3 separate regions of the Homo sapiens genome follow, and regions 1 and 3 are each linked to region 2. Evidence: promoter capture Hi-C in human tissues and cell types (Jung and others, 2019). All regions are on one chromosome and are shown on one strand. The core of a region is centred on a gene start or on the middle of the fragment in contact, and the rest is flanking DNA. Distances in the headings are between cores, read along the strand shown.

Region 1 (3,116 bases), core at 429-2,928, 58 kb before region 2:
GTCTGGATCCCTGGTACAGAGATTGCTTTGGGCAGCAGTGGTGTGCCACGGGGGCTGGGTGCACACCCCCACACAGCCCGGGGATATCTTCCACAGGCATAGGCAGAGCTCAGGACACCGGGAGTGTGCATGGAGAGGCAGTGATAGGGAGGGGGGGGTCTCCCACAGGTGGGAGGTGCAGTGGGGCATATGTATGATCTCTTTTCAGAGGGGAACAGTGACCCTTGACCTTGACTAAATGGCCATGGGTGGCCTTGTGTGCCCTGAGTAAACAGGAGCTTTGGGCTGGTATTCAGTCCTGGTGTTGGAGTATTGGAAGTCAGGCACATTCCAGAGAACCCACTCCCCTTTGAGAGCGCAGGGTAGCTATATGCAGGGGGGCCGCAGGTGGGGACTCGTTCACTGGTGCCTGTGCAGAGCTCTCAGAGCCTGTGGAGTCAGGAGTGTTTCCCATAAGGCATACTTTCTTCTTGGAGCCTGTGTTCAGTCTTGGGCAGTGAGCATGGCCCAAATGCCCCCCACCCCAGGTTCTCAGCACCTGGTCCCTCAGTCAATCTATCCTTGGCGAGTAATGGCTCCCCAGAATGGCATGGGATGGAAAGACCCCTGTGCTTAGAGTGTTCACATTCCTTGTAGGGCAGGAGGTAGCGTATCTGTGTACAGATGAAAGGGGTTGTGGGGTTTGGAAGTCCCAGTTTCCTCTGGGGTGAGATAGGTCCTGAAGTGTGTGCTTGGATGAATGGATTTGGGGAGGGAGGGATTCTGTGCATGTGGAGGGGGCTGCTACAAGCTACATAGGCAGGAAAGCCAAAGTGGGTGAGGGACTGGGGCAGACTGTCCTGGCTGGGGTGGTGATGGGTGTGGGGGAGTTGTGCAGAATGATGTCACAGGCCCGGGGTGCCAGGTTGGCAGTCTGAGGTCAGAGGCTAAGGGTGAGGGATCCAGGGAGGGATTGCTATGCTGGTGCAGACAAGGTGCTAAGCACCTGGACTCAGGTGCTGGAAGTGGGAGTGGAGGAAAAGGGGTGACCTGACAGGAGACCCTTGATAGCTGGTGGGAGGTGGGAAGAGGGTGTCTCTAGCTCTAGGGCAGTAGCCAGTGTGGATGACCTGAACCTCCTGATTGAGGCTCCCCTAGCCTGTGGAGGCCTTGGAGGCTTTCAGATGATGCCTGTGACGTTTTTGCCTCCCAGGAAGCTGTGCCAATGGCTTTGAGCCAAAGTCCTCCAAAAGTCCTAATAGGATGGGCCAGGTTCTGGTCCTGAGTTAGCCGTGGGCATGCCAGGGTGTGAAGGGCCCTGCACAGGGTACAAATGGTCCCCAGGAGAGAACCTTTCTGCCAGCGTTTCCTCCCGCAGAAGGCCCAGGTGTTTGCCAGTGAGGGAGCCCAGACTTGCCCAACGCTTCTCAGCTTGGGGTGGGTCCAGGTCTGGGTCCTGGGCTGGGAAGAAAGGAAGGAAGTGAGCCCTTGCTTGTGCGCCTCTGCAGCCCAGGTTCCCTGCCTTCACAGCCCCGCTAGAGGTGGGATCACCCCCACTTACTGGTGAGCAAATAGGCTGGGGGGGGTTGGTGTCAGGTTACATGGTTTAGTTGATGGCGCAAGCCCAGGTCCAAAGCCCATGCTCTTCTCAAACAGCCAGAGGTGGGGGCCGGAAGGAGGGATTGGCTGTTGGGGAGTAGTGGGAGCAGGGGCGGTGAGCAGGGGCGGTGGGCAGGGCCAGGTGCGCAGGGGAGAAACAAGGCGCCTTGGAGTTCAGGTAAAGAAAGTTGGGGAGGATGACCACCGGAGCCGGGTAAGGAAGGGAAAGGGAGCTCCGGGCGCGGGGCGAGGCCGGGCGCTGGCAGAAGAACGGGTCGGGCTGGTGAGGGACTCGGGTGCTACCCGGCTCTGGACGGGCGGGAAGAGGCCGGGACGCTGTTCCACCAGCACCTGCGGGTGCGGAGCGCGACCCCCCGCCTCGGCTCCTGGCAACCAGGAAAGTTCCCAGTTCCGGTTCCAAGGAGGCGAGCAGGTGAGGCCGACGGGGCGGGGCGGCTCTGGCTCCCGGGGTTCACTCCTCACCCCTCCGGGCGACCCGCGTTGCCATGGCGACCGCCGCGGTGCAGCCCGCCCCCGCCCTCCCCCGTGCGGGAGGGGTCGGGTCCCCAGCCCTCGGCCGATGCGGAGCCCGCGGGGCTGGAATGCGGGGTCCCGGGCGGTTCGGGGCCGCGCGCCCGGCTCTCCGGGCTGCTTCCGGCCTGGCCCGGGCGGCGGGCGGGGGGAGGGCAGCCCGGCAGGCGAGGGGGAAGGAGCGGAGACGAGCCCGGCCGACGCGGCTTTGTCTCCTTTGTTCCCGGCGGTGGCAGCGCCGCGCGGGAGGGGCGGGCAGCGGGCGCAGTTTTCCGCCCCTCGGTCTCCGGGTAACAGCTGCGGCTCCGCCAGACCCGGGGAGAGGCCGCTGCGCGCGGAGCCCGAGCCCGGAGCGGCCGACGCCCGCCTCGGCGCGCACATCCCGCGGGGCCCGGCCGGGTGGTGAGTGCGGGGCTCGGGGCCAGGGCGGCGAGGAACGGGGCTCCCGAGGTGGAACGGGCCGGGGCCCCGATCCCGCCGGGCAGGGGCGGCCTGGGTGAGTGGTGGGCGGCTTTGGTTTTGAGAGTTGGGACCACACTTCTCCGCGCGAAGGGAAACTCTGGCGACTCCGCCTGGAACGCGATTGGGAGACTGAGGAGGTGGAGCTGCTCCTCCGCGCCCCCTCCTCGCCGTCGCCGCCGGGGACCGGCCGGCCCCTTCCCCGCCCTCCCAGGGCCAGTGATGGGGTCCTCGCCTCGGGGTCTGGGGGTTGGGGAGGGTCAAGGACGAGCCGAGTGGGGAGGTCGGGGCTTCCCCTCAGTAGTAACAGCCCTTTCTGGCTGCTCCCGGTGGGACTGACAAAGGCGGACCTCGAGCCTCCTGACCCCCGGGCGGGTGGGGGGGACCCTCCTCTCCACACACAGACATATTAAGTGGGTGATCGATGAGCGCCTTGGGTCATCGCAGGTGCCTGGTAAATGGTGGATCTCCCCACCCCTCCTCAACACACAGAAAACAGGGCGGGCAGCGGGCACCACTGCACTGTCAATGAATAACTCACCTCTGTA
Region 2 (2,715 bases), core at 1-2,500:
TACTCACACTAACTTTCCTGTGTATATCTCACAACACAGCCACACAGGCCTTGGGACACAGCATGGGTGCGCAGTCAGATGATCTCCTCTCCCCTTCCCTCCTTGCCCTTTCCCTTCCCTTACCTCCACAGGTAATCACTGTCTGCAATCCTATTCCAATGCTATGGGAGAGAAAGGAAGAGACAAGCAGGCAATCAGTTACATCAGAGAGCAAGGGTAATCCTCTGCTATTATTTGTTCTGGGAGCTGGGCCCGCACAGGTTAATCAGATGGGATTCCAGCTCTCAAAGCACTCTCAGTGTGGGGAGATAAGGAAATGGTAACAACAGAGACCTATCACTGCTAATACAGGCACTGGGTATTCCCATGAATTCACAGGAAGAAGTGTTGATTTCCTAGGGCTTGAAATGGGAGCCTCAAGGACTGTTTAGTCAGCACAACTCCTGGATATCAGCTTGTCCTTTTCGTTTAACAGAATATGAGGCCCTCAGTATGAAGAATGCTAACCCCCAAAGCCTCAGTGTAACCCTCTGCTATTCTGCAAAGTGGTGCTCAAACTGGTCGAGAGAAGCAGCGGGCTTGGGGGGCAGTGGGAGGTGGAAGGCCTTTACCTTGTTCACCTGGGAAACCTGCAGCAAGCCGAACAGGTCCAGGAAAGAGAAGATTCGCTTCAAAGCTAAGTCAGGCAATCGGATCTCCATTTCATGCGGCCTGAACCCACATCCACTTTCCTTTCTCCTCTCCGGGCTGCTCTGAATTTATAGGCTTTGCCAAAGTCTGCAGCACTTGTAAAGATTTTCACCCATGCCCATCTGTGTGCGGTAGAAACAAGCTGCAGGTGTGCAGACTCCCGGGCTGACCTCCACCCCGGCCTCTCCCCTGGGGCCTGATCCACACAGCTGGCAGGCATCCCTACCTAAACCCACTTGTTAGTGCTGTTCATTGTTTAGAGGAGCTCAGCAACACCTGTGCGCTGTGAGCTGGAGGTGCAGAACCTGGGGCAGCCCCAGTTGCAGATGAAGTTGTCAGAACCCTTTAGGAAATGTCACCGAGTGCACTCACTTTGATCAGATCTGAGTGTCTCTATGACTCTATTTAAGTTCCAAACTCCTGGAATTGGAGTCTGCTTGCCCTGTGTCTGTGCCTACCTTGGGATCTTGAATCTGGTGAGTGGGGCTCATCTCTCAGCGCCAGCATGGCCTCTGGGTTTCTACCTTCTCGCATTTAACTTTGCAGTGGAGGAGAAAGAACGTGCCAAGCTGGCTTCTCCACAGAGGTCCGCCCAAAGGGAGCAGGCCTTGTCTGGGATGGCTCTCCCAGCTGGTGGCTTTCCCTGGGATGTGACGCTTTCCCACAGTTACAGATCTCCCAAGAACCTGACAACTCATTCTGGGATTTTCTAAAGACCGTGTCATAGCCTGGGTGTTTGTGTCCTCTCAAAATTCCTACGTTGAAATTCTAACCCTTGGTGTGATTGGAGGTGGGGGGCCTTTGGGAGGTAAGTGGGTCACAGGCAGAGTCCTTATGATGGGACCAGTGACCTTATAAAAGAGACCCCAGAACGCTCTCTAGCCCTGTTCATATCATGCGAGGACATGAGAAGGTGTCAGCTGCAACCTGGAAGAAGGCCCACACCAGAACCTGACCGTGCTGACAGGTGACTCTTGGACTTCTCTCCTCCAAAATTGTGAGAAATAAATTTGTTTGTAAGCCACCCAGTCTATGGTACTTTGCTGCAGCATAAGACAGGGGTCCCTCTGTGAGGCTCAGTGGCCAACCCTTCTTAAAACTGCTGCCTCCAGGCAGACACACGGGAGTGGTTGTCGGGAGTCCCATTTATGATACAGTAGTAAGAGAGAGGAAAAATACAAATTGACATGGTGAGGAAATAAAAAGGAAAAGCAAAGACCAAGAAGCACCTAGAGGGGCGTGGGGAAAGGCGAGTCAAGGGGTGTGTGGAGAGGAGTGAGAAAAATACAAGGGTAAAAGATTTGTATTCCATAAATAGGAAATAATGCAGAGAGAGCCAGAGCCGTGGAAGGACACAGGAAGACAGAAAGCTTGGAACGGACTCTATTGTAGAGGAACAGAATTAATGCAAAGATATAGAAGGCTGAGAAATAAAACACTTTAAAATATGACAAGGGAAGAGAAGAAACAGTAAAATAAAGGATATTTTAAAAGTATTAAAGCACAAATATTATAAAATACACAGATAGGAAATATAACTGTAAGTGGACTGAGACAGAGTAGGAATAAAATGGAAAAGAGGACAGATGAGAAAGAGGCAAACATAAGGAAACTGAAGCAAATTGCCGAATGAGTGAATGAATGAATTTGAAATAGAGGAACAGAGGCCAGGCACAGTGGCTCATGCCCGTAATCCCAGCACTTGGGGAGGCCGAGGCGGGTGGATCACCAGGTCAGGAGTTTGAGACCAGCTTGGCCAACATAGTGAAACCCTGTCTCTACTAAAAATACAACAAATTAGCTGGGCGTGGTGGCGGGTGCCTGTAATCCCAGCTACTTGGGAGGCTGAGGCAGGAGAATTGCTTGAAGCTGGGAGGTGGAGGTTGCAGTGAGCTGAGATTGCGCTACTGCACTCCAGCCTGGGCGACAGTGCGAGACTCCATCTCAACAACAACAACAAAAAAAATAGAGGAACAGGAAGGTGTGTTGGGGGGTGGTGGTGGCGGGGTGCTACCAGAAAAGCGG
Region 3 (3,018 bases), core at 173-2,672, 53 kb after region 2:
AGTGATTCTTCTGCCTCAGCCTCCCGAGTAGCTTGGACTACAGGTACGTGCCACCACACCCAGCTAATTTTTGTATTTTTAGTAGAGATGGGGTTTCACCATGTTGGCCAGGCTGGTCTCAAACTCCTGACCTTATGGTCTGCCCACCTCGGCCTCCCAAAGTGCTGGGAGTGCAGGCGTGAGCCGCCATGCCTGGCCCTTCATCAGAAATTTTAACCTGGAAAGACATTTCCCTACTTCTGCTCTCTGTAACCTACCAATCACATTTTGGGGTTGGTACAAAAATATGATTGTTAGGTTACAGAGGGCAGGGATTTTTATCTTTTTTTTTTTTTGGAGACGGAGTCTTGCTCTGTCGCCCAGGCTGGAGTGCAGTGGCGCGATCTCGGCTCACTGCAAGCTCCGCCTCCCAGGTTCACATCATTCTCCTGCCTCAGCCTCCCCAGCAGCTGGGACTACAGGCGCCCACCACCACGCCCGGCTAATTTTTTGTATTTTTAGTAGAGATGGGGTTTACCGTGGTCTCGATCTCCTGACCTCGTGATCCACCCACCTCGGACTCCCAAAGTGCTGGGATTACAGGCATGAGCCACCGCGCCCGGCCGGTATTTTTATCTTAATAAAGAATTTATGGGAGTCTGGAGAGTGCACAGATTATATATTATTTTGCAATTATATACATATTGTGGGTGGTAACTGTTGGGGTCAAACACTGAGGCTTCTGAATCCTTTTCTCTGAACTCCTGATCTGGTGCTCGTATTCCATCCACCTCCCAAGCTATACATAATAACGGCCAAAGGACCTGGATGAAAGTGTCTGAAGCAGTTGTGTGTGTCTCACCTTCAGGTTGAATGCCTCAAGAATGTAAATAAGTGCTGGTTTTTATCCTACATCAAGCCCAGTGAACCTATTTGTGGCAGTGACCAGGTTACCTACAGTAGTGACTGCCATCTGTGCTCCAAAATTCTGTAAGTCCTAATTTTGTTCTCCCTTTCTTTCAAGTCAAGAGGTTAAGAGTGGTCAAAAGAGGGTGATGACCTCAGCCCACTTCCTACATCATCCAATGAGACCTTCTCTCCAGACATTCCTCCAGTATTTGTTCCTCCCTTTCTTCCATTCCTTTCTGTGACCTCAAAAGGTACATGTGATCCTATTCAGACAATGCAGAAACAGAAATCCACTAAGGTGAGGGCACTGTGTGTGACCTGGACAAGCCTCAAGTGGAGGCACTCAGAAACAAGCAGCCATAGCATGTAGATCATGTGACCCTACATGAAGGTCATCCTCATGCCCCCTCAGGCCAAAGAACAGAAACAAAGAACAAAAAGAAGAGGAAGAGGAAGCTGGGTGAAGAATCTTCCCAGCTAATAGTTTATTGGTCCTAAAATGGATATTATTTTCCAAAACAACTTTCTTTTGCTTTCAACTTAGTATGTGGTTTAGTCTCTGCACCCATCACATGTTAGAAGCTTTGAGTAACACACAAGTGAAACGCCCAATTGTTTAGCCCAAGGGGAATAGTGAGGAGCAGGGGTTTGTATGAAGGAAACTCCGTATACAGTTAGGAGGATTCTCTGACATCTGCCTTCTCCTTTAAGGAGAAAAGCCACACCCTTGTCTAACTAAGGCTTACAAGTTGAGTGCTATCTTAAGAGAGAAAAGCAAAAACACAAGAGTAGATCAGAATTAAGTCTCTCTCCCCTTCCTCTTCTTAGCTTCTCCTCCAGAGAAGGAATAAGAATCTTCTTGATCAGGATGAGAGATATTTGGCTGGGCAGGATCGGACTTTCTTGTATTCTTGGCTGAATAAACACTAAAGCTTACACTAGAACCCATACGAGAGTTGTAAGGTAAACAACTTTGGTGTCAGCCTCAATCACTGGCACAGACGCTGACACCTGACAATCAGAAAGCATCATCTGGGGAATGCGCAGCATGACAGAGTCAAACGATGCTGGAACCAGGAGACATCTGAGAGATGGCCTCTAAAGAGCTCCCTTTCAGTGTATCTTAGAAATTATTCTAGCTGGGCGCAGTGGCTCACGCCTGTAATCCCAGCACTTTGGGAGGCCGAGGTGGGCGGATCACCTGAGGTCAGGAGTTCGAGACCAGCCTGGCCAATATGATGAAATCCCGTCTCTACTAAAAATACAAAAATTAGCCGGGTGTGGTGGTGCATGCCTGTAATCCCAGCTACTCAGGAGGATGAGGCAGAAGAATCCCTCGAACCCAGGAGGCGGAGGTTGCAGTGAGCTGAGATTGCATCACTGCACTCCAGCCTGGGAGATAAAGCAAGACTCCGTCTCAAAAAAAAAGAAATTATTCTCTTAGCAGTTGCACTGGATATTACAAGTTAAATTCTAATTTATACCAATCTAATTTGGATTAATACCAACTTAATTACAAAAATTTTAAAAAATATTTTTGCCTGGAGGGGTGGCTCAAGCCTGTAATCCCAACACTTTGGGAAGCTGAGGCAGAAGGATTGCTTGAGCCTAGGGATTTGAGACATGAGCAACATAGCGAGACCCTGACTCTACAAAAAAAAATTAAAAAATTAGCCAGGCATGGTGGCACCTGCCTGTAGTCCTAGCTACTTGGAAGTCAGGATGATTGCTTGAGCCCAGGAGTTCAAGGCTGCAGTGAGCCATGATCGTGCCACTGCACTCTAGCCTGGGCAACAGAGCAAAGTTCTTTTGAGACGGGCAGATCAGGAGGTCAGGAGATAGAGACCATCCTGGCTAACATGGTGAAACCCCATCTCTACTAAAAATACAAAAAATTAGCCAGACGTGGTGGCGGGTGCCTGTAGTCCCAGCTACTCAGGAGGCTCAGGCAGGAGAATGGCATGAACCTGAGAGGTGGAGCTTGCAGTGAGCCAAGATCGCGCCACTGCACTCCAGCCTGGGTGACAAAGTGAGACTCCGTCTCAAATAAATAAATAAATAAATAAATGCTCCTTTTTTTTTATTTTTTGAGATGTAGTTTCACTTTTGTTGCGCATGCTGGAGTGCAAT

The links. Contacts are between HindIII fragments. The study calls those that stand out against the background at their distance.
Region 1: the fragment with the promoter of PLXNB1 here is called in contact with the fragment with the promoter of FBXW12 in region 2 in 1 of the 25 tissues and cell types used here (IMR-90 fibroblasts).
Region 3: a fragment that was not itself captured here is called in contact with the fragment with the promoter of FBXW12 in region 2 in 10 of the 25 tissues and cell types used here (IMR-90 fibroblasts, bladder, heart left ventricle and 7 more).

The regions. Positions count from the first base shown.
Region 1 is chr3:48,428,648-48,431,763 of GRCh38, reverse strand. It overlaps PLXNB1 (plexin B1), which reads left to right and starts at 1,678. Exons shown (of 38, transcript NM_001130082.3): 1 at 1,678-1,756. RefSeq lists an enhancer at 731-1,724 and silencers at 1,965-2,564, 2,645-2,724. The HindIII fragment of the contact is 17,995 bases long and covers 1-3,116 here.
Region 2 is chr3:48,370,754-48,373,468 of GRCh38, reverse strand. FBXW12 (F-box and WD repeat domain containing 12) reads right to left here and starts at 1,250. Exons shown (of 11, transcript NM_207102.2): 1 at 1,149-1,250; 2 at 612-785; 3 at 124-161. The coding sequence starts at 701. The HindIII fragment of the contact is 16,322 bases long and covers 1-2,715 here.
Region 3 is chr3:48,317,448-48,320,465 of GRCh38, reverse strand. SPINK8 (serine peptidase inhibitor Kazal type 8 (putative)) reads left to right here. Exons shown (of 8, transcript NM_001080525.3): 6 at 848-969. Among named protein-coding and RNA genes, the nearest start is that of MIR2115, 2.5 kb to the right of the region's middle. The HindIII fragment of the contact is 4,808 bases long and covers 1-3,018 here.